Linked DNA regions of Homo sapiens: all the other regions are linked to region 5. The links are contacts of gene promoters, found by promoter capture Hi-C in human tissues and cell types (Jung and others, 2019). All regions are on one chromosome and are shown on one strand. The core of a region is centred on a gene start or on the middle of the fragment in contact, and the rest is flanking DNA. Distances in the headings are between cores, read along the strand shown.

The links. Contacts are between HindIII fragments. The study calls those that stand out against the background at their distance.
Region 1: a contact is called between a fragment that was not itself captured here and the fragment with the promoter of SNAI3 in region 5, in 6 of the 25 tissues and cell types used here (H1 embryonic stem cells, bladder, dorsolateral prefrontal cortex and 3 more).
Region 2: a fragment that was not itself captured here is called in contact with the fragment with the promoter of SNAI3 in region 5 in 1 of the 25 tissues and cell types used here (lymphoblastoid cells).
Region 3: a fragment that was not itself captured here is called in contact with the fragment with the promoter of SNAI3 in region 5 in 4 of the 25 tissues and cell types used here (lymphoblastoid cells, mesendoderm cells, ovary and 1 more).
Region 4: a contact is called between the fragment with the promoter of ACSF3 here and the fragment with the promoter of SNAI3 in region 5, in 1 of the 25 tissues and cell types used here (dorsolateral prefrontal cortex).
Region 6: a fragment that was not itself captured here is called in contact with the fragment with the promoter of SNAI3 in region 5 in 2 of the 25 tissues and cell types used here (liver and spleen).
Region 7: a fragment that was not itself captured here is called in contact with the fragment with the promoter of SNAI3 in region 5 in 1 of the 25 tissues and cell types used here (spleen).

The regions. Positions count from the first base shown.
Region 1 is chr16:89,129,586-89,133,410 of GRCh38, reverse strand. ACSF3 (acyl-CoA synthetase family member 3) reads right to left here. Exons shown (of 11, transcript NM_001243279.3): 8 at 149-275. Among named protein-coding and RNA genes, the nearest start is that of LINC00304, 28 kb to the left of the region's middle. The HindIII fragment of the contact is 8,026 bases long and covers 1-3,825 here.
Region 2 is chr16:89,110,583-89,114,477 of GRCh38, reverse strand. It overlaps ACSF3 (acyl-CoA synthetase family member 3), which reads right to left. Exons shown (of 11, transcript NM_001243279.3): 5 at 2,232-2,386; 6 at 1-139. Among named protein-coding and RNA genes, the nearest start is that of ACSF3, 19 kb to the right of the region's middle. RefSeq lists enhancers at 13-112, 1-511. The HindIII fragment of the contact is 3,569 bases long and covers 861-3,895 here.
Region 3 is chr16:88,987,958-88,992,190 of GRCh38, reverse strand. No RefSeq gene overlaps it. Among named protein-coding and RNA genes, the nearest start is that of CBFA2T3, 13 kb to the right of the region's middle. RefSeq lists an enhancer at 1-1,202. The HindIII fragment of the contact is 5,289 bases long and covers 42-4,233 here.
Region 4 is chr16:89,091,762-89,095,963 of GRCh38, reverse strand. It overlaps ACSF3 (acyl-CoA synthetase family member 3), which reads right to left and starts at 2,112. Exons shown (of 11, transcript NM_001243279.3): 1 at 1,968-2,112. RefSeq lists enhancers at 1-109, 1,329-1,518 and a silencer at 1,939-2,348. The HindIII fragment of the contact is 24,302 bases long and covers 1-4,202 here.
Region 5 is chr16:88,683,672-88,687,875 of GRCh38, reverse strand. It overlaps SNAI3 (snail family transcriptional repressor 3), which reads left to right and starts at 1,369. Exons shown (of 3, transcript NM_178310.4): 1 at 1,369-1,545. The coding sequence starts at 1,470. It overlaps SNAI3-AS1 (SNAI3 antisense RNA 1), which reads right to left. Exons shown (of 4, transcript NR_024399.1): 4 at 690-1,085. RefSeq lists silencers at 1,089-1,548, 1,599-1,758. The HindIII fragment of the contact is 11,241 bases long and covers 1-4,204 here.
Region 6 is chr16:88,968,279-88,972,296 of GRCh38, reverse strand. The region is part of intron 1 of CBFA2T3 (CBFA2/RUNX1 partner transcriptional co-repressor 3); the gene reads left to right. Among named protein-coding and RNA genes, the nearest start is that of CBFA2T3, 6.9 kb to the left of the region's middle. RefSeq lists enhancers at 397-536, 2,429-3,284. The HindIII fragment of the contact is 4,840 bases long and covers 1-3,930 here.
Region 7 is chr16:88,947,647-88,951,850 of GRCh38, reverse strand. All of the region lies in intron 1 of CBFA2T3 (CBFA2/RUNX1 partner transcriptional co-repressor 3), which reads left to right. It overlaps LOC100129697 (a long non-coding RNA gene), which reads right to left. Exons shown (of 2, transcript NR_168285.1): 2 at 1-1,594. Among named protein-coding and RNA genes, the nearest start is that of CBFA2T3, 27 kb to the left of the region's middle. The HindIII fragment of the contact is 6,684 bases long and covers 1-4,204 here.

The DNA.
Region 1 (3,825 bases), core at 1,135-3,634, 440 kb before region 5:
AGTGGCCCCCAGCCCCACTCCACCCCATCTTCTGCCTTTGGCTGAAAATTCTGGGAACTCCCAGCCTCGGTGTCACTCAACGTGGGCAGCAATGAGTTCCTGCCTGTCCCCTCGGGGTCTCCTCCACTCCCATGGGGCTGGGTCCTACCTGTCTTAAACCAGCCATCCAGGGTGAATGCACTCTTAGTTTCTTCTGGTTTATTCCAGTATTCTCGAAACACGGAGGGTCCCCTCACCAGCAGCTCCCCCTCCTTTTCTTCAAACCCTGGGGTCACCTGTGGAGGATGAAGAACATGGAGGTCAGAGCTGGGCACACCCTCTTGGGATTGGTGCTTTCTGAAACTGTGGGCTGCTCCCTGCCCACCCAGGGCCCACCCAGGGCCGCGTGCTTTCTGAAACTGAGCGCTTTGTTGGAATGCTTGGAAAACGCAGCTTTGACAGGTGGAAGCCAACCATGCTGAGCTAAGCATTCCCGCCGTCCTCTGTGGGCCCTGGTGCCCTGGCCGGGAGCTGGGTGTCCTTTCATTCCTCCCAGAACAGCCACAGAAGAACGTGCTCCTACCCCATCCTCTAGACTTGAGCATGTTACCGGCCCAGGCCTCAGCACTCAGAGCCTGGGCTGGATTCAGGCAGCCTGTCCACGTCTAAAACCTGTGCCCAAATCCCATCTTCGGGGGCGTTTCTCAAACCAGGGAACACAGCAGCGGGCACCTGTCCACACCTTGCCCACAGGGGCTGGGGCAGCTTGGAGCGGGCAGCGCCCTCCACAGGGCTGAGTGACCAATTACAAGAGGGAAGACTCCGTGGGAAGGGAAGGTGGGGCCTGAGGGTGGAGGGTCCCTGGAGGCCCCTGTTAAGCATGCAGGCACTGCCATGGCCCCAGGAAACACAGCCTCACTGTTCTTCTATTGTGACCATGGAGAGGGCGGGAGGGAGGCTGGGTTATATGAGCCTGGGCTGGGGGTCCCTGCAGCACCAGGAACAGATGGCACGGGAGGCCCTGGACACGGTGGGTCTGTGAAGACACCGGCCGAGCCCTCGGCTCATAGGTCAGGAGGGTCTGGGGAGGGCAGAGAAGGAGCAGGGGCTTCAGATGAGCAGCTGCCAGCTCCACGACCCTCACTCTTCTCTACTGTGAAAGTGACTGGCTGTGACCCCGGAGGTCAAGGGATGCGTACAAGAGTCTCACTGAGGCTCATCACCTGCCATCTGGAATGGACTTCAGAAAACCAGGGGCCAGGGAAGTAGCTGCGAAATAGCAGAACACACTGATCTGATGTGGAGAAAGGGCGCTCAAACGCCGTGGGGCCAACACTGCCCCATGGCAGCCTCTGCCGAGTGTGTCGTCCTGCTGCCAACCCGCCAGCCTGGGCTCCTCCAGGAGGGGCTGACGCCACCCACGGGGGTGAAACACCTGCCCCACATGATGACGGGGCTGCCAACCCGCCAGCCTGGGCTCCTCCAGGAGGGGCTGACGCCACCCACGGGGGTGAAACACCTGCCCCACATGGTGACGGGGCTTTCCGTGCAGTGCCCAGCCTAACTCCTGGCTGCTCAGAGCCTTGTGTTTGTTTTTTCAAAGAAACCACGGACTTTATCTGAATTTCGTGAATTTTTCCACTGCTGTCCTTTATCTGCTCCACTGACGTGGTCAGACTGGCCACTGGTCAGTACACTTGTGGGACATGTAGAGACAGCAAGGCAAAGGCCCTACAAATAAAATGACAATGAGACCAATCCCAGGGAAGGAGGGTCAGACTTTGTAGAGTTAAGCCAACCAAGTCACAGTAAAACAAACACCTCAACATCTTCACAGAATGTCAACAAGACCAAGAATCTCATCCCTAACATTAAAAATATCCAGGGTACAATACAAAGTTACTCAACACGGGAAAAAACCAGAAAAATAGCAACTCATATAGAAAAAGAATACAACAGCACTGAGACAACACAGTTATTGGAATTATCTGAGAAAGACTTTAAAGCACTATTATAAAAATGCTCCAAAAAGTAAGGGCACACTTTGGGAGGCTGAGGCGGGCAGACTGCTTGAGCTCGGGTGTTTGAGAACAGCCTGGGCAACATGGCAAAACCCTGTCTCTACAAAAAAGATAAAAACTAGCCAGGTGTGGTGGTCAGTGCTTGTAGTCCCAGCTACTTGGGAGGCTGAGGTAGGAGGATCGCTTGAGGTGGAGATTGCAGTGAACCAAGACTGCAGCCCTGCACTTCAGCCTAGGTGACGGAGTGAGACCCTGTCTCAAAAAAAAAAAAAAAAAAAAAAAAGAAAAAGAAAAAGAAAAAGAAAGAAAGGGCAAACACTTGGAAATAAATGGAAAAACAGAAAGTCTCAACAAAGAAATAACAGATATAAAGCAGAACCAAACAATAATTTAAAAACTGAAAAATACAGAAATAAAGAATCTCATGGATTGGTTCAGGAGCAGGACGATGAAGAAACGAACGTGACAACTTGAAGACAGAGCAACAGAAATGACCCAAAATCTGAACAGCAGAGAAAAATCACCAGGAAAGTCAACACACAGAGGGCTAACGTTCATGCTACTGGAGTGACAGAAGAAAAGATAACACTTAGGTGCACAAAGTCGTTTGATAAAATTTGGCTAAAAACCCAAAATTTGGTGAAAACATAAGCCTATAAACTAAAGAAGCTGAGAGAATCCCAAACAGGACAAACCAAAAGATGTCCAAGCCCAGACACATCATAATCCAATCACTGACACACAGAGAGGAACAAGGGTTCCTGCGCCCACTGATTTCTCCACGGAAACAATGGAGGCCGGAAAGAAGTGGAGTTATATTATTAGTAGTATTTTTTTGAGACAGACTCTCATTCTGTCACCCAGGCTGGAGTGCAATGGCATGATCTCGGCTTACTGCAACCTCCACCTCCCAGGTTAAAACAATCCTCCAGCCTCAGCCTCCCAAGTAGCTGGGATTACAGGTGTGTGCCACCATGCCTGGCTAATTTTTGTATTTTTAGTAGAGACAGGGTTTCCCCATGTTGGCCAGGCTGGTCTCAAATTCTTGACCTCAGGTGATCCACTCCCACCTTGGCCTCCCAAAGTGCTGGGACTATAGGCATGAGCTGCCACATCCAGCCAAGAATCATATTTTTAAAGTGCTGAAAGAAAATAGTTGTCAACCCAGAATTCCTAATCCAATGAAAATATCCTTCAGGAAGGAAGATAAAGACATTCTTAGATGAGGAAAAATAAGGTAATTTGTTGCAAGCAGATCTGATCTAAAAGAATTCCTATAGAATGTCCTTCAGACAGAAAGAAACTGGTATCAGAAGGAGACTTGGTATATTGGGAATACAGGAAAAGCAACAGAAGTGGCAAATATTTGGATGAATGAAGTTGAGTTCCTTTCTTCTCAAGTTCTCTGAAATATTTTTGACTGTTGAAAGCAAAAATTACCATTTTGTCTAACGGAGTTTACAACAAATACAGGTATTACACTGACTACACTCTAAAGGCAGAGGGTAAGTAACCGATGTGGAGGCAGGGATGTGGCTCTACATTCTTCTGGAAGTGTTAAAATGTTGACTTTAAGTAGACTGTAAAAAAGGAAGTATGTATATTGTAGTTTCTGGAACTACTACTAAAAAAACTATGCAAAGACATTTATGGTCAAAAACTTAAGAGACAAATTAAAATGGAATATGAAAAAATAACCTCAAAGAAGGCAGTAAAGTTGAGCAATAAAACTCTCAGGGAACAATAGTAAACACATAGTAAAATGGTAGGCTTAAATTCAAGCACATCAATAATTACATTAAATGTAAATGGTCTAAACATACCA
Region 2 (3,895 bases), core at 1,396-3,895, 430 kb before region 5:
CACGGCAGTGGTCAGGGGCCCGGACAGAGCCATGCCGATCTCGGTCATGCCATACCGCTCCAGCAGGGTGTGGCCCGTGATGTTCTTCCACTTCTCCAGCACTGGGAGGGGCAGGGCAGCTGAGCCTGAGACCATCAGCCTACGCGGCACAACCAAAGGCAGGTTTAGCCCCTTGGGACGTGGCTCTCGCGTGCAAAGGTGGCAGGTTTAGCCCCTCAGGAGGCGGCCCTTGCTTGCAAAAGTGGCAGCTCCTTCACGAGTGCAGGAGCCCCAGGCCGTGGGTACAGCACCACTGTGCGACACCCGGGACCAACGCTGCAGTCTGCGCTACGGCGTGACTTTGTTTTTTGAAAACGATCTGTTGGGTGTATTTTAGAAGGAAGCAGGTCCAACAGCTAATGAGGGTAAACAATGTGCTTAGGGTCCGCGGTGTCCCCTGCAAAGTTCCTGCGCTGTTCACAACCACGCTCAAGAACAGCAGTGACCGTGCAGCTGCCGACCACGGAGCTGATCACGGGTGAACAGCCACGGCGCTGCAGGCTGCGGCCAGGCACATCCGGGGACTACAGCCGGCTCAGCTTGCAGGCTCTGCAGCAGAACGCGGACATGGGTGAATGGCCGCGGCACCCAAGGGGTGGGGCCGGGCACACCCAAGGGGCTCAGAACCACCCGCAGAACTGCAGCCATCTTGGCCCACAGGGTCAGCTCAGGCTTGGCAGGAGAACACGGGCCCTGAGAACTCCGAGTCCCCGCGCTCTCACACAGCATTTCCCGCAGCCTCACGGGCAGTAGGGAAGGCGCTTTTGTTTGCGGTCTGAGCGGAGTGGTCCCTGCTGCTGCCCCTGCTTTACGAGGAGGCACCACTGACAGGACCCCCGCTGGGAGATCCAGATGGCCGAGGTCTCATTGCCTCTGTCACCCCAGAAATCACCTGATCCTCTCCTTCACTGACCTCGTTCTTGCCCTTGGTTCCTTAGATTTGGTAAAACGTTGTGCTCACCCTGCTCAGCTTGGGGCCTGCCCAGCCCCAGGGTATCCCAGCAGTAGCAGCAGCAAAACCATGGGCTCCGGTGGCCTCACAGAAAAGGGGCAAGGGAACGGCAAAGAGAGCGAAGCGGTTCAGACATGTGCCTTGGACAACCCGGAATTCTCTCCAGGAACAAAGGTGCCGCTTCCCTGTGCACTTCCTGGGGACTGGGAGGAGCGCGCGGCAGCCACAGACACACACATCCCACTGGAAACTGGATGGCAGTGGAGCCTTCAGTTCCTGCAGTGCACCCTCCACGCCACCCCTCCCTCTCACAAAAAGAAAAAATACCCCACCCACGACTCTGCTGGAGGTGCGGGCCTGTGATGCGTGTGAAGACTCACTGAGCCACACGTGTGCGTTTCCAGTTAGTGAACCACACCTCAACAGCCACGAGGGAAAAGAAACGTTCCCACGCCTGCAGGTTCATGGGAGAGTGCAGAGCAAACACGCCCCTGGGTGGCCCAAAAGACCAGCTTGTCCTGGGAGGGAGGGGTTTATCCAGGGAGCTGGGAGGGGAGGAGCGGGGCTGAGAGGAAAAGCAGCAGAACGTGCCCCAGGCAGGAGGCCTCACAGGGCTGCCCACGAAGGCAGAGAGACTGCATAGGAGAGGCAGGCGCCGTGGGACATGTGGGCAGATGAAGCAGGAGCAAGCGGGTCAGCTCACTGTCCTCACCCTTGTCCTTCAGACGCCATGACAGAGAGAGAGAGAGACGGACAGGAGAGAGAGCAGACAGACAGACGGAGACAAAGACAGATGGAGAGATAGAGACAGATGGAGAGACAGGAGAGATAGAGAAAGAGAAGACGGAGAGACAGATGAAGAGCGATGGAGAGAGACAGAGAGAAGACAGAGATGGAGAGTCTGACAAGAGAGACAGAGAAGACAGATAGATGGAGAGATGGAGAGAGAGAGACAAAGAGAGACAGAGAGAGATAGAGAGACAGAGTGTGACAGAGAGAGCGATACAGAATCCAGGCAGCTATCGACGTGGAAGAGATTACAGATATACATACAGACGGGTAGAGAGAGAGAGAGACAGTTAGAGAGGTAGAGACGGAGACGGGTAGAGAGAGAGGGAACATTGAAAGGAAATGGAAAGCACTGCTTCCCAGAACTTAGTAGGAGTGATTTATTAGAAATAAGTCGTATCTGTTGATCTTTAAGACTTTCTGAACGAGAAAGTGGGCTCTTTTCACTTACCTAATTTTTTCTTCACAAACTGCACGCAAGAAATCCTGGGCGTGCGGCTGGGTAAAATGCCTGTCGTAGTACTCCATCAGCTTGGTGTATATTGTAGGCACTGCCATAAAGACATTGATCCGCGGCGTTTCAGAACTTAAGAACTTTTCCCAAACCTACGAAGGAAAGGAAGCACTCGGTAGGAAGATGAGCAGGCACTGGGGCCCGTGGCGGAGGCTCCTGGCTCCAGGCACAGCGTTCTCATGGTTCACATTCAAGAGTCTGCAGCGCCTCCCTTCTAAAAGGGGTGCCTCAAACTCTGACCCCTTCCCACAGAAGCCATGTTGCGCGGGACAGCTGCGTCTGGCCTGTGAGGGGAAGAGCAATCGTGAACAGAGCTAGAAAAGGGCTTCGGGATCTGTGGCCTGGAGAGACGTGAGTGGTCAGGCTCTTCCAGCTACACAGAGAGGGCGGATGTACACCTTGGGGAAGCTGGCAGGAGGGCCTGGCTGCCCGCAGACCTGAAGTCAGCATGCTTCCCAGTATGGACAGGCATGCAGTGACTAGCGAACGGGTGAAGTCTTTTATTTAAAAGAGTCATGTGAATTTTATATTTTACTCCATAATAAACATTTCTTGCTTACATATAAATACGTTTTAAGTTCCTCACTCGTTAGCGGGTTCTCGCGTCGCCCATAAAGCTTCAGGAAGAGCTGGTGAGCCGCATTCCTTCCATGGCCCTCTCTACCCGCGGTGTTCCACACGGAGCACCGAAGGGTGTGGCGGAGGGAGGAGGGCACTCTTCGTGCTGTGGGGTCAGCACCTAAGGGAGGCCCAGGACACACAGGACAGATCTCGCCCACACGGCGTTGAAACTGGGGTCGACGGATGCCGATGCCACAGTCCAGCCCCAGCCCATCTCATCTCCTCACTGGACTGCAGTGACGAGTGCCTCACCGCAGCTGCCTGGCAGAGAAAGGCAGGAATCTCCGGGGAAGAAATAATATCATTCTTTCAAAGACAAAGACTGGAACCCTTCAAAGTCACAAAGCATGTAAGGACACAAAGATGTGATCCCCAACTGAAGGGAAGAAGTCTCAGGAAATCCAAACGTCCGAATCACCAGACAAGGCCCTTCAAATCACTGCAATAAGCAGATTAAGGAATTTCAAAGAAAAGATGAACAACGTGGGGAAGATGGAGAATTGCAAAGAGAAGTGGAACTGCAAAAAATCATAAAACTGAAAAACACAAGATCCAAAATGAATTCATTCAATAGACCTAATAACAAACAAGACGCAGCAGAAAAGAGGAAAAAAGTCAGACACAGTCAACGGGGGTGATCTAGGCTGACCCACAGACGGGAAAGCAAAGACACAGGCGACCAGAGTGCGGGAGACAGCAGCACCGCGGAGCAGCACCCACAACACTGCCATCGAGGGAGGGAGGGGAACAGATAAGCGGGTGGAGAGAGGCCAGGCTCGCAGACGGGAACACTCCATGTTGTGAAGATGGCAGTTCTTCCCACACTGAGCTCCAGCTTCAAAGCAATCTTCCCAAAATTCCGGCAAGCTTTATTTTGCAGAAATTGATACACTTATCCTACGTTTTACACGAAAAGGCAAAGGACCCAGAAGATCCAAAATAAATTTCAAAAGGCAGATTAAAGGTGAGAACACACAGTT
Region 3 (4,233 bases), core at 1,437-3,936, 300 kb before region 5:
AGGCCGCCACGTTCCAGGGTACCCAGTTGTTTGGGCAGCCTGGGGTATCCCAGTCACCAGGCAGCTCCGGGCCCGCGGGTCGCCAGCTGTGTGTTTGGCTTTTGTCATGGGCTGGAGTCTGGAGTCTTGGAAAAACAAATTCCTACCCTCGGGCTCCAGTCTGTCTGGAAAGAAAAGACTCACATTTACAAACAAGCAGACACATAACACGCCCCCCAGCGCCCACGTGTGATCAGGCATGTGCTGTGTGGGTCACGTTGGGCTCCCTGGGCCCATCACAGGGGCACTGTTCATTCGTTCCTTCTACAAACACGTACAAAGCACCTACTGTGTGCCTGGTACGAGTCTAGGCACTGGGGACACAAAAGAAACACAGCCCCCAGCCTTGTGTTCAGGTAAACAGGGGTATTTGTGGAGGAAAGGGTTCCTAAGGGGACCAGGGCTGCTGCATTTTATTTATTTATTTTTTGAGACAGAGTCTTACTCTGTCGCCCAGGCTGGAGTGCAGTGACACGATCTCAGCTCACTGCAACCTCCGCTTCCCAGGTTCAAGTGATTCGCTTGCCTCAGCCTCCCGAGGAGCTGGGATTACAGTCATGTGCCACCAGGCCCAGCTAATTTTTGTGTCTTTAGTAGCAATAGGGTTTCACCATGTTAGCCAGGCTGGTCTTAAACACCTGACCTCAGATGATCTGTCCGCCTCGGCCTCCCAAAGTGCTGGGATTACAAGCGTGAGCCCTACCTTGCCCAGTCGCTGCTGCATTTTAAAGCAAAAATTGAGATTTTCAGGGCAAATGTAGAAGTGAGCCTCTTCCGGACTCCTCGGAACAGCCAGGCAAGGGGCACCATGAGTCGGCTGCAGCCCTCAGGCGGGTACAGCTGAGGGTCCCCATCATAGTGAGGGGACACAGGGCTCCCAGCCAGCCACCATCCCCATCCCTCGAAGCTAGGCAGGGGAGAGAGGCAGCCCCAGGTGGAGGGAAAGTGGGAAGGATCCACACAGCTCCCCAAGGAGCCTCCTCGGAGAAGAGGTACACGTGGGGTTCCACCTGGGAAGAGGAGGGCTCCTCCGCTCTGCAGGCGTGAATTTGCTCCAGGCCTCCGTTGCAAGAAGCTCTCCTACTTTGGGTCTAACAGAGCTGCCTGAGGCCCTCCCCAGGACAAGCCCCCTCATCACCAGTCTAAGCCTGCTGTCCACACCTGGGGTGGTGCTGTCCTGTCACCCCATCCTGAGCCCCAGAGCACAGGTACTGTCACTGAGGCACACACTCAGGTGCCAAATCCGCTCCCCAACACAGCACACAGCCTCCCGCCGACTAGAGCTGGGCCCAGCAGTGTTCCGGCCCCACTCAGCCTGGAGGAAGCTCTGCTCTTCCTTCCATGGCCACGGCTAACTCTGTTCCCTCTGAGCCCTTGCCTTTATCCCCCCGAAAGGCAGGGACCCCACAGAACTTTCCCAGCTCCCTGGCAGCCAGACACGGCTGTGAGACCCGGCTTAGCCAGTCAGCTGAAAGGGGAGAACTGCATGAGGTTTCTGGAAGAGATTTTCCTCCCTGGCTCTTTCTCTTCCTTCCCTGAACGCAGTGGTCAGAAGCTGTGACTCTTGGAGCTGCAGCACCCATCTGGGAACCATGAGGCAACAGGTCGGACAACAGCAGGCCGGGCAGAGGCCACGACAAGCCGGATGACAGCAGGCCGGGCAGAGGCCACGACAGGCCGGATGACAGCGGGCCTGGCAGAGGCCACGACAAGGCATGAGAGGGAGCGGGCCAGGGTCCCTGATGACGTCACTGACTGACACACCCAGTCCAGAACCTCAGGACGGGCCCCACGCAGGCCTGTGTTTTTCCATTTGAAGCTGGAGAGGGCCCAGCAGCACCCCCGTGGAGCCCCCCACAGTGCCCCGTCTGCCGCTGCTGCACTGGGCCACCCCCCAGGGCCTCACAGCCCAAATCACCCACTACCATGACTGAGGACGGGTGACTGGAGCTGGGGGTGGTGGGTTGTGAGGGAGGGGCTTCCGTATGGAACCACCGGGAAGCCCCAGCTGTGGAGAGGGCACAGGAGGGCAGCTCGCTCAGGGCTGTGAGGGCTGAACCTGATGTAGCCTTCAGCTGATGGGACATGGGGAGCCAGTGCTTGTTCTAGAGGGGAGGCATCCCTTGCGTCCAGGACAGATCCCAGCTCTGCTCCCATCTCCCAGGGTGCCAGGGGTCTCTCAGGGTCTCTGGAAGGAGCCGCCGTGGGCTGGGAGAGAAGAGCCAGGAATTCCGAGTCTTCTGTGTGGCCAGAGGGTCCCCTGCCAAGATGACCCTGTGAGCCGCCGTCTGGTTTACCATGCAGGGCCGCAGGTGAGCACCTGGCTCTTCCCCAACCAGGGATAGGGCCAAGAGTGGGAAGAGGGAAGTTACCAGATGCTGCCAAGGCTGCAGATGCACACACCCATCGGGCTGGCGCCAGGCCCAAGCCCCTCAGATGCCCTCAAGGCCTCCTCAGGGCCAGGGCAGCTGGCACGGTCTCGCCCCACCTGACAGATGGCAGGGCGGGCAGCAGCCAGCGAGGGGCCGGCAGGACTCAAGTCCGACCCCCGCAGACACCCCTGGGGGCCCCACCAGGCAGCGCCCCCGCTCGAAGGCAGTACAGGCGGGAGAGGGGCCATATGGCCCCGGCTCCCAGCTCCCACGGAGGCCGCATCTCCCAGCTGCTCTGTGCTGAAAACATTTACATCCAAATACGTCCCAGCGCGCCGTGTTTTTGCCTCAAGCCAGCCTGGGAGTCTGTCGTCGCCACCTGGGAGGCCCCGGTGCCCAGATTAGGGAAGGCCTTGCCTTCCAGGGACCCCACGACTGAATCCGCAGTGGCTCCGAGATGCTGGCCGGGGCTGGGGGCAGGAGGAGCTTTGCACGTGCGGCTGGTCCTGCGGGGAGCGTGCCTCCCAGAGCTTGACCCACGCCTGGGCCATGCGGGCTGCCCCGAGTTGCCTCTCCCCTTGAGGCCCTCCCCGCCCTGCAGTCATGCCGCACGCCTCACCCCTCCCACCGCACGGCTTTGCTCCCCTGTCTCATGGTCTGCTTTGCTGTCTGTCCCTGGTGGTGAGGTCAGACCCCCAGCCTCGTACAGGGACCAGCAGCCAGCTCCCAGCGGGCCCGCAGGACACGTGTGTGCCATGCACGAGACACTGAGTGGGTGGGAAGGGGATTGCTGGGAGCCAGGAGCTCCCGTTGCCCTGCGTGGAGCCGAGTGGGTGGGAAGGAGACTGCTGGGAGCTCCCGTCGTGGAGTGGGACCATCACCCAGTGCTGACCCCTGGCTTCCCATCTGCAATATGGGACCGGAGGATAAGAGCGGGTTTGCGCCCCTGTGGCCCTGCACGCAAAGGCCCATAGCCCAGGGCTTGAAACCACAGAAACACGTTCTCGCATCTCTGGGGTCCACAGTCTGAATCAAGGTGTCGGCAGGGCCACCCCCTCTGAAGGCTCCAGGAGGAACCTTGTGATGGGGTCAATTCTGCCCCACAGATTCCCATGTGGAAGTCCGGATGGGACCTCAGAATGGGACTGTATTTGGAATCAGGGCCTTTAAATAGATAATTAAGTTAAACAGAGGCCATCAGAGTGGAGCCCTAACCCAGTCCAACAGGTGTCCTTATAAGAGGAGGAAGCTTGGACTTACAGCCGGGTGCGGTGGTTCAAGCCTGTGATCCCAGCACTGTGGGAGGCAGAGGCGGGTGGATCACCTGAGGTCAGGAGTTTGAGACCAGCCTGGCCAACATAGTGAAACCCCATCTCTACTTAAAATACAAAAATTAGCCAGGTGTGGTGGTGTGTGCCTGTAATTCCAGCTACTCGGGAGGCTGAGGCACAAGAATCACTTGAACCCGGGAGGCAGAGGTTGCAGTGAGCCGAGATCGCGTCATCACACTCCAGCCTGAGTGACAGAGCAAGACTCCATCAAAGAAAAAGAAAGAAAGAAAGAAAGAGAGAGAGAGAGGAAGGAAGGAAGAAAGAAAGAGAGAGAGAGAAAAAGAAGGAAGGAAGGAAAGAAAGAGAGAGAGGAAGGAAGGAAGGAAGGAAGAGAGAGAGAAAGAAAGAAGGAAGGAAGGAAAGAAAGAAAGAAAGAAAGAAAGAAAGAAAGAAAGAAAGAAAGAAAGAAAGAAAGAAAGAAAGAAAGGGAAGGAAGGAAAAGAAAAGAGAAAACAAAAGTTGGACTTACAGAGCCGCCAAGGGTGCGTGCA
Region 4 (4,202 bases), core at 863-3,362, 410 kb before region 5:
CATCTTTTCCCTCCTAACTGGAGTGCTGGTTAATGGCAGAGTTAGTCACCACAGGCTTCGACTTGAACGGCTGCTGCCTTTGTCCTCATTTCCTCACTGGCCTAGCCCTTCACTTCCCACCGCTAAGATGGCACAGTAACAAGACCTGCCTCACAGGCTTCACGTGAGAATGTACGAATGGCCCGGCACAGGCCAGGCAGAAGACAAACGGCCGCGCCGTGCTCAGCAGGGTGCTCCCCATGGAGCCTCGCAACAAAAATTACTAGATGAGAATGACACTCGCATTCAAATGAAGGGCTGCTTTCAACATGAATAAAACGACACCTGACCTGTTCACCACCACACCTGACACCCCCGCCCCCCCAGACCTTGTGTTTGAAGTGGATGCCGGCACTTCCTCCTGTCGGCTGCCCCGATGAGAGCGTGGGGCAGAGGAGGGCTGTGCTCGGCCTGCGGGGCAGGATGCGTTTCAGCATCACACCTGTGGTTTGGAGGGTTATTTTCAAAATTACATTTTTAAGTAACAGACATTCACATTGCATTCATGAGCAGTACATTCAAATAAAAAAAACCAAAAAGGAAAAATACACTTGAAACCCATATCCATTTTAGGAAGAAAAATACTATTTTAAAAATGCCATCTGGAAAGGTGACACTTACAACTATCCCAAGCCCACAGTTTAATCCGCCATTTCTGTCTGCCTTGAGGAGATGGTTCAGAGCCAAAGGAGCAAGAGCAAGGGAAGCCTCATCTTATGTCCTCCAACACCTGCGGAGAGGACACCAGCCTGAGCCAGGCTTCACGCTACAAAGCTCGCAGGGTCCCCAGGGTCCACCGGTAGTAACACCCGTGCTCCTGGGTCCACCATGTGAACCCCCTCCTCAACAAGGTCTCAGCCTTGGGCCCTAACACGAATGTCTGTCCTCCCAGGATGGGAAAGCAACAACTATGCCCCAGACACAATTCGTGTTCCTATCTCTAAACGTGTTCCCTTTCTAGCAAATTCCTAATCATTCTTCCAAGCCCAGTTCAAATATCACCTCTTCTTTTTCAGTTTTATTATTTATTGAGACAGTGTCTTGCTCTGCCACCTAGGCTGGAGTGCAATGGTGCTGTCATGGCTCACTGCAGCCTCCGATTCCTGGGCTCAAGAAATCCTCGTGCCTCAGCCTAACCAGTAGCTGGAAGTGCAGGTGTACGCCACCACACCCAGCTAATTTTTACATTTTTTTGTAGAGATAGGGGTCTCACCATGTTGCCCAGGCTGGCTTTGAACTCCTGGCCACAAGTGATCCTCCTGCCTCTGCTGCCCAAAGCGCTGGGATTACAGGCATGAGCCACTGCACCTGGCCTGCCTGGTGGAATTTAGACTCAGGACAGCAACATCAACTCCTGACTGCACCGGGCCTCACCCCTTTAAACCTTCCCTCTCTCCAGGGAATGGGCTGCCTGCAGTACCTTCCAAATACTTCACGGCCGGCCGCACGTCTCCATTGCTTGCTCATAGATCTACATGCCCTCAGGGGCTAGGCCGGCTGTGAACCTGTGCCCCACGCGCCCAGCAAGGTGCACGCAGCAAACAACTAAAACGGGGAGTACTTCAAGGGTGACTTCTGAAGCCCAATGAGAAATGGAAGTGAATTTATTCCAAACACAACCAAAGACGATTCGTTCTGAGGATGCCTGAACACGGACCCCGCCGGCTCGACGGTATCACCGGGCCCGGCGTCCGCACAGCTTCTCTCCCCGCACCCCGCGCGGGGGCCCCGCTCCCCACCGGACACGAGAGGCTCGGCGTCCCGGGAAGGCCGACGCCCGGCCCCAGGCGGCTCGCGGGGAAGCGACCGCGCCACGGGCCACGGCTCAAGCCCAGCTGCGACCCAGGGGCGGGCGCCGGAGCCCGCGCCCCCGAGAGCTCTGCGCCCGGCCGACCCCGCCGCGGTCCCGTGGGCCCCGCCGCCCGCACCTACGAGACGGCCGCGGCCACGGGGCAGGATCTGCCTCGCCACAACTCTTCCTCGTCCTCCGCCGCGCGCGCGCCGGGGTCGGGCCGGGTTCCGGCCGGGTCCCGCGGGGTCGTGAGTCGGGCCGGACCAGTTCCGGCGCCCAACAGCTTCCCCGGCGCGGCGCGTCCGTCGCCCAAGCGCGTCCCCCCGGCGCGGCGCCGTGGCGGCGGGTTCCGGGCGCGCGTGTTCCCCTGTCCCGCCCGTCCCGTCGTGGCGGGGTCGGGGCCGCGGGCGTCTCGTGAGCCGTGGCCGAGGCAAGGCGCCGTGGTCTCCGCTAGCCCAGGGCTGCCCAGATCAGAACGGCGCGCGGGACCACTCCCAACGCGGATTGCTGGGCCTCGCCCCGTCCTCCCAAAAGGGGCTCTCTGGGCTTTGCGGCTGGGGGTCTGCACGCTGAGCTCCTGGGTGATTTTATTATTATTATTATTGTTGTTACTTTTTCTTATTATTATTATTATTTTGAGATGGAGTCTCGCTCTGTCGCCCAGACTAGAGTGCAGTGGTGTGATCTCGGCTCACCGCAACCTCCGCCTCCCGGGTTCAAGTGATTCTCCTGCCTCAACCTCCCAATTAGCTGGGACTACAGGCGCCCGCCATCATGCCTGTCTAATTTTTGTATTTCTTGGGTGATTTTAAACGGACCGCATTTGAGAATCTCTCCTCGAAGGGACTTGGGAACCAGGATACGAATATGAAGCGAGACTGTTGGATGGACAGTGGCGGAAAACATTTAAAGCCAAACACAAAGTCCAGTTGGCTGAAATTTGAGGGTTTTTCCCCTAAAATGAATACTAATAACACAAAGACATGTACTGGCAAACAGTAGTACAAATTATCTGCAGAACCGTCCTGGTGTGATGGCTCACGCCTGTAATCCCAGCACTTTGGGAGGCCGAGGTAGGCAGATCACGAGGTCAGGAGTTCAAGACCAGCCTGACCAACATGGTGAAACCCTGTCTCTCCTAAAAATACAAAAATTAGCCGGGAGTGGTGGCAGGTGCCTGTAATCCCAGTTACTCGGGAGGCTGAGGCAGGAGAATCTCTTGAGCCTGGGAGGTGGCGACTGCAGTGAGCTGAGATTGCGCCACTGCACTCCAGCCTGGGCAGCAGAGTGAGACTGTCTCAAAAAAAAAAAAAAATTATCTGCAGAACCTTGCACAGTTTTTTTGTAAGTGTATTATTTTCCATGCCCATCTTCCTCTCTTGTGATGATTGCTGGGGCAGCAGTTGTGTCCTTGGAAAGCTCAGGAAAGGGCACTTCAGGAGCCCGAGGATGGTTTTCCTGGGAGGAAGGAGCTGGATCTGGGGGAAGTTTGTAACACAGAGCGTGGGAGAACAAACCCAAACTTCTAGTGCCTCTGGTTGCCACCCTGCTAGGTATCATGCAGAAAAAGCAAGTCCAACCCTCTGCCACTGGGACAGGCTTGATCTGGTGTCAGAATTCTGTCTGCTTCCAGGACTCAGCAGGCTGAATGGTGTTTCCGACGAGGGCAGTAGGAAGAGTAAGGAGGGCGTCTAACATCAGGATTCAGCCCCAGGACGTGTGTGCGCAAATTTCTATCCCTGGGAAGTTGAAGAGCTCAGGCTGCGTCACCCACCTAGAGACAGGACTTGGGACAGGGTGACAGCTCCCGTGGTCCTTGGCCATGGCTCTGTGAGGGTGGCAGTGGGGGGAGGGTGCAGTCTCCGAGAAATGGCCCAGTCATCCTATGAGCAGGGGTCCCATCTGTGCCTCGGCTCTGGTCAGCATCATAGTGGCAGGTGGGAAGCAGGAGCAGTCAGGGATTAGCAGACATTGGAGGACAGCCTCTAGCCAGAGAGACGTGGGCTGAAACAACCAGCAGAACAACTGCAGGCAGCCAGGCTGTGCAGAGTGAAGAGACCCCCAAAACCACCCCCTGTTAATACCCTCAGGGAGACAAGGGAAGCGACAGCCCCCATGAGTCCAGAGCGAGATGCCCCGAGAAAGAGCGTTCCAGTAACATAAAGGGGGGCTGGAGGGGTCAGAATACAACAGCCTGAGTAAAAACCCTAAGGGAAGGGCTAAAGGACGTCTCCTAGAAATAGAACAGAAAGACCGAGAGATGAAAAACAGGAGAGGAAAGATAAAAAAATCAGTGGGCTCAGGCAGGCATCCAATATGCTAAATACGGTAGTTTCAGGAAGGGAGGGCAGAGAAAACAGAGAGAAGTCAG
Region 5 (4,204 bases), core at 120-2,619:
ATCATAGCTCACAGCAGCCTCCACCTCCTGGAGGCTACTGCAACAAGCAATCCTCCCTCCTCAGCGTCCTGAGTAGCTGGGACTGAAGATGGGTGTTGCCACGCCTGGCTAATTAAAATAATTTTTTTTTTTTTTTTTGTAGAGACGGGGTCTCATGTTGTTTTTCAGGCTGGTCTCAAACTCCTGGGCTCAAGCAGTCCTCTTGTCTCAGCCTCCCACAGTGCTGGGATTACAGGCGTGAGCTGCTGAGCCCAGACTCACAGCCTAGTTTTTTTTCATTGGCAAAGTGGGGCTGATACTAGCCCAGCTTTTCACACCCTGGACGTGTGATGTGGGACGTGGGATGCTGGTGTGGCACGGCCCTCCTCCCTGCTGTCTGTCCCTCAGAGCTTCCATGGACTCACCACCCCCCACCTTCTCCACCCCCGGCCCACAGGGGGCAAAGGCCACCCAGCTCTGAGGTGGAAGCCCTGCTGGGGAGGCAGGCCGGCGGCACAGCCAGGGACACCCTGTGTGCACGCCAGCCCAGAGACGGCCCCACCTGGCCCCCAACGTTATGAAATGTCCATGTCAAAAGAGACCCAGACACTGGACACAGCGGCTCCCAGCTTTTTATGACCCTGAGGGCTCTACAGGACCACAAAGGAGGGAAACGGATTGCCCAGGTCACACGTGCAGCTGTTGCAGAATTCACGTGATTCACCGGTTTTATTAAACTTCCCATAACCATGTCTGACCCCCTGGGAATTCCAGAATTCCAGGCCAAGTCCTCCGTCCCCCAAAAAACAGCTTTCTGGAGGCACTGGACAAACTCCTAAAGGGCTGACTCCAGTGGGGGAAGCCTTCGGAGACTGCAGCCCATCCAGAAAGGACCACTGTCTCCAGGCCACCGGTCCCGGGCCTGTTCCAGAGCCGCCAGTAGGGCTGGTCACTAGGGTCAGCTTCGTTTCGCCTGGGCTCTCCCCATCAATCCTGTCCTGTGAGTTTGCAGAAGGGATGGGGAGGCGAGGCCAGGCCGCAGAGTGAGCGTCATTCTCCGCAGCAAGGGTTCTCCAAGGACCGCGCTCGGCCGACGCTTCCACATTCTGTGGAAGAGATTCTCGCTCGGTTTCCACACAGCTTTGAACTCTGCCCTTCACTCACGGCGAGTGGGTGGCCAGGCCCGACGGGTCGGTGTGTGACTCGGCGGCGCGCACGCCAGAGAATTCCCGTGGGGAGGACACCGGCGGCCACGCGCTCCCCGCCCCGTCCCGCCCGCGCACCTGTCCTGGGCGTGTTGCCCGAGACCCCGCCTCGCCCTCAGTTCCGCCCCCGTGGCCCCGCCCCACTCGCGCCGGGCGCTGGTTGGCGGAGGCGGCGCGCTATGCTAATGAGCCTGACCCCTTCAAGCGCCGGCGGACGCAGCAGTCCGGACCCAGGCGCGCCCCTCCCGCCCCAGCCCACCCCGGCCTGCCGCCCGGGAGGGGAACATGCCGCGCTCCTTCCTGGTGAAAACGCACTCCAGCCACAGGGTCCCCAACTACCGGCGGCTGGAGACGCAGAGAGGTACTGACTACCCGATCCCCGAGCCCCTGCCGGGACTCGACCCTGAGGGGCGGGAGAGAGAGAGAGGCCCCTGGGAGCGGGGGCTGGGGAGACACCTGTCCCAGGTGGGAGGAGAAGGAGCCAGCGCCTCTGCGCAGCGGCTGCGGCTGCAGGGAGGGAGGTGGCCCACGGGCGCCTCCACTTCAGGGCACTGAGCCCCGCCTCCGGCAGGGCGGGCGGGATTCTCTCCCAACTTGGAGAAGTTTTCTAAGTTTTCTAAGCCCCCAAGTCTCCCTGGAACTCACCCCTGATATACAGCCGCCCGTCCCAACCACTACAGCCCCAGCTAAAGGCACCCTGGAGTCATCTTCCTGGCGCACACGTTTGGGAGGGGTCGCGGGGTGGTGGGTGGGAGGGAAGGAGGGCCGTCTGGGGCGGCCCGGCTCAGGGACCCCCGGAGCATGCTGACTGGGGGTGTAAGCACAGGGGATGGTGAGAAGGACACATGGGCTCTTTCTGGTGCAAAGGCACTGCCCCTCCTGCATTCAGTTCAGGTGAGCCTCCGCCCGTGGTCTCCCTCCCTCCCCCACCTCCCTTCACCCCAGAAGCCCTCCTGCTCACCCCGGCAGGCTTGCCTGGGCAGGCTGGGCTAAAGGGCTGCAATCCTCCACACACCGGCTAGGCTGGGGAGATGGGTGCCCAGCAACCGGGCTGCCCGTTCATTCCCACTGCCTGCTAGGCTTAGGGACACGAGAGAAGAGGACTCTGTCCTTCAGAGGACAGCCTGCCACACGGGCGGTGAGAGCAGTCCCCACCTGGCTTGGCAGCTTCTTGGGACAAAGGCCCACTGAGGGGCGCCGGCGGACGCGGTGGTCGGGACTCACGCTCTGTGGCCGGTGGGGGAGAGCAGGAAGGGCGCTGTTGGGGCTGTGGCCCCCAGCAACACCGCCAAGAGGCCTTTATCCCAGCTCAGAACCCAGAGTTGGGGATGGGGGGGATCCCACCTGGACCCACACCCGAGGCCCGGGCTGCCACCAGGGGGTGCCAGCTAGGACCATGCTTTTCAAATGTGCATTTTGAAATCAGTTTCATCAGTCACCCCCAGCAATTTTGTAAAATAAAATAGAGCAGAAACTGCCGGAGTGCCTGGCTCATGGTGAAGGACACTGGCTTCTGTTATGTGTATGTGGATGCGCATGTGACTACACATGTGTGCGGAATTTACATGGGTAATAGTTGCAAGTTTCAAAGTGTTGCTTAGGGTCCATCCCAGTGTGCAAATCTGGGTAGCTGTGCTGGGCCCAGTGGGCAACTGTCGTGAGTAGCCGTGCTGCCCCGCAGTGCTCTCTGCTCCCCGCCCCCGCTCCCCTCCTCACTGTAGCCCCAGCTGCCTGGCTTTCTGACAGCCAGGGGGCCCTGGCAACTTTCTGCCAAGATGTTACCCCAGGATAGACCTGAGGTGCTGGGATTTGGGGCCCCTCAATCTCTCCTTTTAAATAAATGGCTCCTATGGCTCCCCAGGGAACCCCTGAAGCCAGCAAGGTACTTAAACAGTCTCTTCAGCTGGGTGTGGCGGCTCATGCCTGTAATCTCAGCACTTTGGGAGGTCGAGGACGGCAGATCACTTGAGGTCAGGAGTTCGAAACCAGCCAACATGGCGAAACCCCGTCCCTACTAAAAATACAGAAGTTACCCCGGTGTGCTGGCGGGTGCCTATAATCCCAGATACTCAGGAGGCTGAGGTAGGAGAATCACTTGAACCCGGGAGATGGAGGTTGCAGTGAGCCACGATCGCGCCCCTGCACTCCAACCTGGGCGACAGAGCGAGACTCTGTCTCAAAACAAAACAAAACAAAACAGTGTCTTCTCCCCAGGATCTGGACCGCAGCATGAATAAAAAGGCAAGCAAAACCCAGAGAGTATGGGGAAAGCATTTAAAATCCCAGCAGAAACACATGGTCAGCCTGACGGGGCGAGACTGTCTCTTGCCCCGTCCTGCCTCTGGGCTCAGCCACTGGGCCCACAAACAGGGTCCTGGCTCTGTGACAATACCTGGAGGCAGAAAGGTGGCCATGTCTTAGAGATGGAAAAAAGAAATGGTGACTTTTTCCTGCAGAGAGGCCCCAGCAAAGCCGGGAAACCTGGGGCTCCCCCAGTGCTGTCTCCCCAGAACTCTCTTGGACGCTGCCTCTTAGCCTGTCATTGCCGTCACTTCTGGGTGGACAGAAACCTGATGACTCTGTAATTAGGAAAACTGAGGGTGGGAGGAGGTCAGGTCAGGAGAGAGTGGCAGATGGGAGGCGTTCCTTTGAATCCCCTATTCCTCCTCATCCTCACAGCACTGGTTATTGTCAATTTTTTTCAGTTCTACTGGGTGTGAGCATCTCATTGTGATTGCGATTTGGGCTTCCCTGATGGCATTGAGCATCTTTGCATGTGTTCATTGGCCATTTGTGTATCGTCTTTGGAGAAATAGTTATTCAGATCCCTTGCCCAGGCCGGGCGCAGTGGCTCACACTTGTAATCCAGCACTTTGGGAGGCTGAGGTGGGCAGATCCCTTGAGGCCAGGAGTTTGAGACGAGTCTGGCCAATGTGGCAAAAACCCGCGTCTACTAAACATACAAAAATTAGCTGGGCATGGTGGCAGGTGTCTGTAATCCCAGCTATCAGGAGGCTGAG
Region 6 (4,018 bases), core at 261-2,760, 280 kb before region 5:
GAGCAGGGGCTCTGGGCACGTCCTCACTGCCAGGTGCAGCCAGCTTTCCAGGTCCCATAAGTGCACCTCCCTCCCTCCCTCCCCAGTAAGCGTGGCACTGCTTCCCTGAGGCCTCAGTGGCTGCTGGAATGCTCCGCTCCTTCCCCATACCAGCCCATCCCCACACACAAGGACAGCAACCAGCCATGTCCTCCTGTCCAGCAGAAAGACCTTGAATCAGCACCTAGGAAGACAGGGGCGGTGCCTAGGGTCAGGGTGCAATCCGGGCCAGCTTCCTGGAGGAAGTGGCCCCATGGGGGCGGCTCTAGGAGGCCACTCTTTAGGCGAAGACAACTTTCACTTCTCACCACATGTGGACCGAGAAGCAGTGCGTCCCGTTAACCTGCCTGGGCGCTGGGCAGGGGTTTTCCGGCACTTTCACTTCCGTGACTGCAGTTGACCGGGGAGGCGCAGGCAGGAAGAGCGGCCTCAGGGAGAGGCCGATTGGTCACAGCTGAGCCAGGACTCGCCGGCCAGTGCTCCTCCGAGGAGACGTCGGCCAGGGGCAGCTGGAGAGAAGCAGGGAAAAGAGAGGCCTGTCTGAGGGCCGCCCACCCACCCTTTGAAGGAACTCCAGCTGGGAGCTGTGGACTGGGTCACTCAGGTCGACTGTTACAAAGCCAGAGGCCGGCCTGCAGCAGGCGCCAATGAAGTTCTCAGCACAAAACCCCCAAGTCCACCCCCAGGACGGCCGCTCCCAGGCCTGTCGGGCAGTTGCCCAGGACACAGGTCCACAGCGGGGACCCCACCGAGGGGCTTCCTCTCCCAGCTCTGCCCACCCCAGGCCCCAGGCAGCTCTCTCAGGTGGGCAGAGAGTGGCTGGGTCACCATGTCATTTGAAAAATCAAGGCCAGGTGCCGTGACTCATGCCTGTAATCCTAGCACTTTGGGAGGCCGAGGCAGGCGGATCACTTGAGGCCAGGATTCCGAGACCAGTCTGGCCAACATGGCAAAACCCTGCCTCTAGTAAATATACAAAAATTAGCTGAGTGTGGTAGTGGGTGCTTGTAATCCCAGCTACTCGGGAGGCTGAGGCGGGAGAATCGTGTGAACCCAGGAGGCAGAGGTTGCAGTGAGCCAAGATTGCGCCCCTGCACTCCAGCCTGGATGACAGAGGGAGACCGTGTCTTTAAAAAAAAAGGAAAATTGAGTTGATGAAAACACGTCAGCCACATCACACCTGCGCACACCCACGGCCCAGCCCTCCCGGCCCGACCCCACCGCGTCGGCCTCCGGCACTCACAGCCCCGGCTGCCTGGCGGCTCCACAAGCCTCCCGAGCCCGTGCCTGTGCTATGCCCTCGCCGAGGAGCCCCCTCCCGACCGACCTCCTTCCCTCGGTGTTCCTCTCCTTCAATCTGTCACCCCATGAGAAAAACCAGCTGCCCCCTTACGTACTACTCATCCCCCGGCCCCCAGCGTCGGCTGCACGAGACAGGGGCTCTGGTGCCTGCTTGCAGCAGGGCCCTCAGCAGACGGTGCTGGCCCAGGAGGGTGCTGAGCCCTGGAAGGCGTGAGTCTATTCCATCTCCAGGCGAGGCGAGGCCTCCGTGCTCCTGGTCCTTCAGTTGTTACTTGGCTGTGTGCATCCTGCTGGTGCTGAGGCAGGGACTGGCTCCACAGTTTTCCCAGGAACTCAGGCCCTGTGGCCCCGGAGGGAAGGGGCAGACGGCAATCCCTTCCCGGCTTTCACCCGGCAACACTTCAAGGGCATCGCTGACCTCAGATGAGGACACAAATCAGAAAGGTCAGGAAACCAGCCGAGCTCACACAGCGGGGCTGGGGTGGGCCACGTCCTCCCAGGCTGTGCATCTCTGCCAGGGACCCTCCCAGAGGCAAGGCAGCTGAGGTCGCATCTCAGGAGAGGGACCCCACTGCACGCCCTGCTCTGAGACGAGAGCCGCGCCCTCAGCTGAGCCCCTCCGAACCCACCTCTCCGTCTCCTTGCTTCACCTGAGGAAGCCCCACGCAGGTGCTGCCTGACACCCGCGTCGCCGACCCCTGGATCAAGCACATCCTGACACCCAGCTGATCACACAGCAAGGCTGCCGGCTTGGGGCCGCCGCCACCGCCTCCTGGAGTGAAATCCTCTCTCGGCCCAGGACAGCTGCAGAGCAGCCGTTTCACTGGCAGCTTTTGGAGAGTGGGCCAACCCCTCCCCCAGGCCTGCCTCCCACTGACGTGAATTTCCATCAGCTTTTCCAGGCGCCCCCTTTGTGGAGACGAGGACTCCTGGGGTGAGGGCCCCAAGTGTGGCTTTCTCCCTGGGAGGAGTGGGGCCAGAAGGCATGCCCTCCTGAGAAGACATGGCAGAAGCCTCCAACAGCCACAGCTTCTGGGGCTCATTTTGGGAGGCCCCTGTGGAGGGGGATGGGGTGAACCCACAGCCTTGCAGAAGATCGGGGGCTCTGCCAAATCGCAACCCCCCAGGCCATGCTCACCCTAACTGGACCGGGTCCACGGTGCCCTCTAGTAGGGCCCACCGGGAGCCCCAGCACCTGCCCCCCGGCACCTGCCACTCGCACCCTGGCAGCCAAGCCTGGCCTGCTGCCCTGAGCCTGCAAGATGCAGCCCCACGGGCGGTGCTGAGGTCTGTGCGTCGTCAGGCCGGCCCCGCCCCCCTCTCCCTCGGCTCCCTGGTCTGTGAGGGGCAGTGGCTGGACCCGACCATGGTGGGAATGGAAACTGCTGTCCACCGGCCACGCTGACCCCAGCCTGTCTCCTGTTTGTAAAACGGGGTGGCGGCGAGCCCCTCCTGAAGGCTGGGGTGGGATTTGGTGAGGAAAGACCCTCTTCCTGGCACTCCTTCCCAAGGGGCCCCGCTCTTGCGACCCCCGCAGCTGGCCCTGCAGACACCAGGCCTCCCACCCCTGCCAAGGCCAGGAGGCACCAGCCGGGAGGGAGCCCAGTAGAGAAGGAACTGGAGAATTCACCCCACCCTGTGGGCTCCCGGAGCTTCCTCCTGAGCTCCCAAGTCCAGGTGTGTTTTGAGTGTCTAGAAAGTCCCGACTTCACAGACCTGAGGGGGACAGAGTGGGGGAGGGGACCTTGCAACCGTCCCTCCAGCCGTGTCCGCTGCAGCCCCTCACTCCAGATGGCGGTGACCCCGGCGGCATCCGGGCCAGGCTGCAGCCGAATCCCAGAGCCGGTGGAGCCAGCCTGACCCAGCCGACTGCTCACGAGAGGATGGGGGATTCCTCAAAACGGGGGCACCAGGCCGCACACTGGGGCTGGGTCTGCTGAGGGCTTGCTCTGGCTGGGCTCCCAGATTTAGAGAGCAGATCTTAGGCTCCTGGCCCCCGATTTGTGTGAGGCCTGCAGCGCTGCAGACCCTGGAGCTCAGAGGGGTTATGGTCCATGGGGGTCACATGGCACTCAGGTCCAGGGCCTCGCCACCCTGTCACTGCAAGTCACCCAATCAGCCCCCACCCGCTGACCGCACACCCCTCCGTGCCAGGCGCAGGGTGCAGAAATGAAAGAGGCGTCCCCGCTGGAGGGGCTCGGTGCAAACTGGACCCCGAAGCTTCTTGCCGCTTATTCCCAAGGGGGCCTGCAGTGGTGGGTGTTGTCCTGACACCCCCAGCCCCAGACAGACGGACTGACAGGCGGGGGACGGACAGCCGTCTCAGCTGCTTCTGCCCCTCCAACACGGCAGCATATTCTAGACCAAGGGTTGGGACCACGTGTTCTAAAAGGTCACCAGCAGGTGACAGAAGATGCCAGTCAGATCTGCCCTCATCTGCTCTCGGCCCCCAGGGGCTTCTCCCACCCCAGGTCCTCCTGAGACGCAGCTGAGGCTGGGCCTGGCTCTGTCCCCACTGCCAGGAGCCGTGAGGCTTGTCCTGCGGCCCCTCAGCTGGGGCTTCCTCGTCTGCAGTGCAAGGGGCCGTCCCCACCTGGGGGGCTCTCCGGGCGGCGGGTGGGAAGGGAGACAGCAGGCAGCCGCTTCCTGGCGAAACTGAAACTGCCAGGTGCTTCCC
Region 7 (4,204 bases), core at 439-2,938, 260 kb before region 5:
GCCGCTCTGCCCACCTTCTCTTCCCAGCGGCTGTCCAGGCCACTCTGGGCTTGCCTCCCACGCAGATCAAAGAAGAGGTCCTTCCTCTCTTGTTCCAGTTCAAAAACTCCCAGGGAAGGATTGTGATTGGCCGCGTGTGGTCACCTGCCCTCCTCCTGGACCAATCGCTGGGGCCGCGGCTGCCTGCATGACTGTCCTGCTAGCCCTGTGCCCACCCTGGGGCCGTGGCAGCAGGTCTGTGACCCGAGCTGGAGCTGAGAAGCCACAGACCCGAGGGGAGGGAATGGCAGCAACCCGGTCGCCACCCTGATTTTGTACTGCAGGTGCAATTTTAAAACTGATTTTTTAATTTAAAAAAGCAAAGATGAAACAAAAATACTTATAGGAAAATTCAAACATACAGGTAACAGAAAAGAAGGTGAAAATAAAATAAGACGCAGCTAATGATACCTCTCAAAGAATTGTATGATAAGGAAATGAGAACATGCAGTCACTCAACAAACAAAGGGAGGGATGGAGACCCAGAAGACAGGTGCCAACACTCGACCCTCTGTGCTGGTGCCAGTCCAGGGGACGGGTGAACAGACCCGGAAGACAGGTGCCAACACTCTGACCCTCTGTGCCGGTGCCGGTCCAGGGGACGGGTGAACAGATCCGGAAGACAGGTGCCAACACTCTGACCCTCTGTGCCGGTGCCGATCCAGGGGAGGGGTGAACAGATCCGGAAGACAGGTGCCAACACTCTGACCCTCTGTGGCGGTGCCGGTCCAGGGGAGGGGTGAACAGATCCGGAAGACAGGTGCCAACACTCTGACCCTCTGTGCCGGTGCCGGTCCAGGCGAGGGGTGAACAGATCCGGAAGACAGGTGCCAACACTCTGACCCTCTGTGGCGGTGCCGGTCCAGGGGACGGGTGAACAGATCCGGAAGACAGGTGCCAACACTCTGACCCTCTGTGCCGGTGCCGATCCAGGGGAGGGGTGAACAGATCCGGAAGACAGGTGCCAACACTCTGACCCTCTGTGGCGGTGCCGGTCCAGGGGACGGGTGAACAGATCCGGAAGACAGGTGCCAACACTCTGACCCTCTGTGGCGGTGCCGGTCCAGGGGACGGGTGAACAGATCCGGAAGACAGGTGCCAACACTCTGACCCTCTGTGGCGGTGCCGGTCCAGGGGACGGGTGAACAGATCCGGAAGACAGGTGCCAACACTCTGACCCTCTGTGGCGGTGCCGGTCCAGGGGACGGGTGAACAGATCCGGAAGACAGGTGCCAACACTCCTGACCCTCTGTGGCGGTGCCGGTCCAGGGGACGGGTGAACTGACCCGGAAGACAGGTGCCAACACTCCTGACCCTCTGTGGCGGTGCCGGTCCGGGGGAGGGGTGAACAGATCCGGAAGACAGGTGCCAACACTCTGACCCTCTGTGCCGGTGCCGGTCCAGGGGACGGGTGAACTGACCCGGAAGACAGGTGCCAACACTCTGACCCTCTGTGGCGGTGCCGGTCCAGGGGACGGGTGAACTGACCCGGAAGACAGGTGCCAACACTCTGACCCTCTGTGGCGGTGCCGGTCCAGGGGACGGGTGAACAGACCTGGAAGACAGGTGCCAACACTCTGACCCTCTGTGGCGGTGCCGGTCCAGGGGAGGGGTGAACAGACCGATGTGGTTCCTGCCCTGGAGAACAGGGAAACGCAGAACAAGCAGAGACAGATCCAGATAAAGAGAGGTGAAGAGAGACGGGAGAGGAGGAGAGGGGGCCAGTCATGAGGAAGAGAAGCAGGGAAGCCGTGTGACTTCGAGAGTGGCGGGGGTTTTCGTTCCTTCGTTTTCTTTTCTTTTTTTTCAGACAGAATCTCTGTCACCCACGCTGGAGTGCAGTGGCACCATTTTGGCTCATTGCAACTCTGCCTCCCGGGTTCAAGTGATTCTCCTGCCTCAGCCTCCCCAATAGCTGGGATTACAGGCACCCACCACCACGCCCAGCTAATTTTTGTGTTTTAGTAGAGACGGGGTTTCGCCATGTCGGCCAGGCTGGTCTTGAACTCCTGACCCTAAGTGGTCTGCCTGCCTCGGCCTCCCAAAGTGCTGGGATTACAGGCGTGAGCTACTGTGTCTGGTCCCTTTTGTTTTCTTCTTGTGGGATTTGCCTACTCATGAAGTTTGTTGAGCGTTATTTTGAGTGCTTGTATTGTTCTTCTCTGTAGCAATGTTTGTGTGCTGGGGCCACTGTCGTTTGTCCCCACACCCACTCCCAGCCCATCTTCTTTCTTTTTCTTTTTTTTTTTTTTGAGACAGAGTCTCGCTCTGTCACCCGGGCTGGAGTGCAGGTGACTCGATTTCAGCTCACTGCAACCTCCGCCTCCCGGGTTCAAGTGATTCTCCTGCTTCAGCCTCCCGAATAGCTGGGACTACAGGCACACACCATCACACCTGGCTAATTTTTGTATTTTTGGTGGAGATAGGGTTTCGCCATGTTGGCCAGGCTGGTTTTGAACTGCTGACCTCAAGTGATCTGCCCTCCTCGGCCTCCCGAAGTGCTGGGATTACAGGTGTGAGGCGCCGCGCCCGGCCTCCCAACCCATCTCTTATCGGGGTCCCCTGTCTCTTTCAGGACATGGAAGTTGCTCATGCCTACACGGCCAAACCCCTCCAGCTTCTTAAAATTTTTTCAGAGTTTCTCGGCTGCCTTAATTTTAAACTGGTATTATATAAATTGCTCTGCTTTTTTCTCCTAATCCTTTCACTGTTCCAGTTTTTCACATTTTATTCTTTAACCCAAGTGGAGTTTATTTTTCCAAGTGAAGTAAGGAGTATATAATTCATTTTCCCCACATGGGGCAGTTGTCCTGACACCATCTACTGGGGAGTTTGTGCTTCTCCAGGGATTTTAAATGCCACCTCAATCCCATCCACATTCCCTTTTACACACGAGCACCGGCTGCTTTTCCTACGGGACACTTCCGATTTCCAACTGTTTGTGCTTGGCCTGGTTCTCGTGTGAACTTCAACAAAGACAAGAGAGAACTCTGAACTTGTCTTTGAGCCACATTGCAAATGTGTAGGCCAGCCAGCTCTTAGCCCCGTTTTACAGGAAAAACTGAGGTTTGGCAAGCTTCAGTAACTTGCTTTCTATTGGATATGGAGAGTGAAGGAAGAAAGAAATGAATACGTGAATGAAGCCACTTCACAATTAGGAACCTCATTCTGCAAAAGCAGCGATGCCGATGTGAGTCAGGGGAGAAAGCCAAGAGACACTCCTGAGGCAGGGAAGCCTCCTGTCCGGAGCCCGGACTCCCTCTGCTTTAGGGTTCCTCCCTGCCTCCGGGAGGGTCTCCTTGACCTTGTGGGCAACTTGAAGCCGCGTCATCTGGTGCCCACACCAGACGGCCCAGGCTGACGGCCAAGGCAGAACCTGCTTGGGCCAGTGTGGGTCCTTTTCCCAGCTACCCCTGCACAGTCACCCTCTCCCAGTTCCCCAAGAAAGACCAACGTCTCTCTGCCTGGGGCCAGCCTGGTGCCTTGCCCCCAGCTCCCCACTCGCCACGAATGTGTCTCTGCTGCAACCTGCTGATTTCTTGTCTTTGCATGAAACAGAATTGAGGGGGGACAGAACCGATTTGTCAGCTGATAGTTATTAAAAATGACTTTGATGACCAATCACCACGTGGCTTGCGGCATCTGACTCTCAGAAGGAGGTCACAGTGAGATGGTTAGGACACAGCTCCCGTTCTGATCGAGTTATTTATGGGACTGAAGATTCTCTGGCTTTCACATTAAACACCCACCACGGGAATGGAATTAATGTCAAATCCTGTCTTTTTCTGGCAGTATTATTCATGCATGAATACACAAACTACTACCAAAAAGTGCCCCTCCCTCCTTTTACGAGATGTCTTCCAACAAAAATTTACTTTGTATCTTTATTTTTATTTTTGAGACAGGGTCTCGTTCCATCACCCAGGCTAGAGTGCAGTAGCGTGATCATAGCTCCCTGCAGCCTTAACCTCTTGGGCTCAAGCAATCCCACTGCCTCAGCCCCCTGAGTAGCTGGGACTACAGGCACGCACCACCACACCCGGCTAACTTTTTTATTATTTGTAGAGATGAGGTCTTGCTATGTTGCCCAGGCTGGTCTTGAACTCCTGGGCTCAAGCGATACTACTTCCTTGGCCTCCCAAAGCATTGGGATTACAGGTGTGAG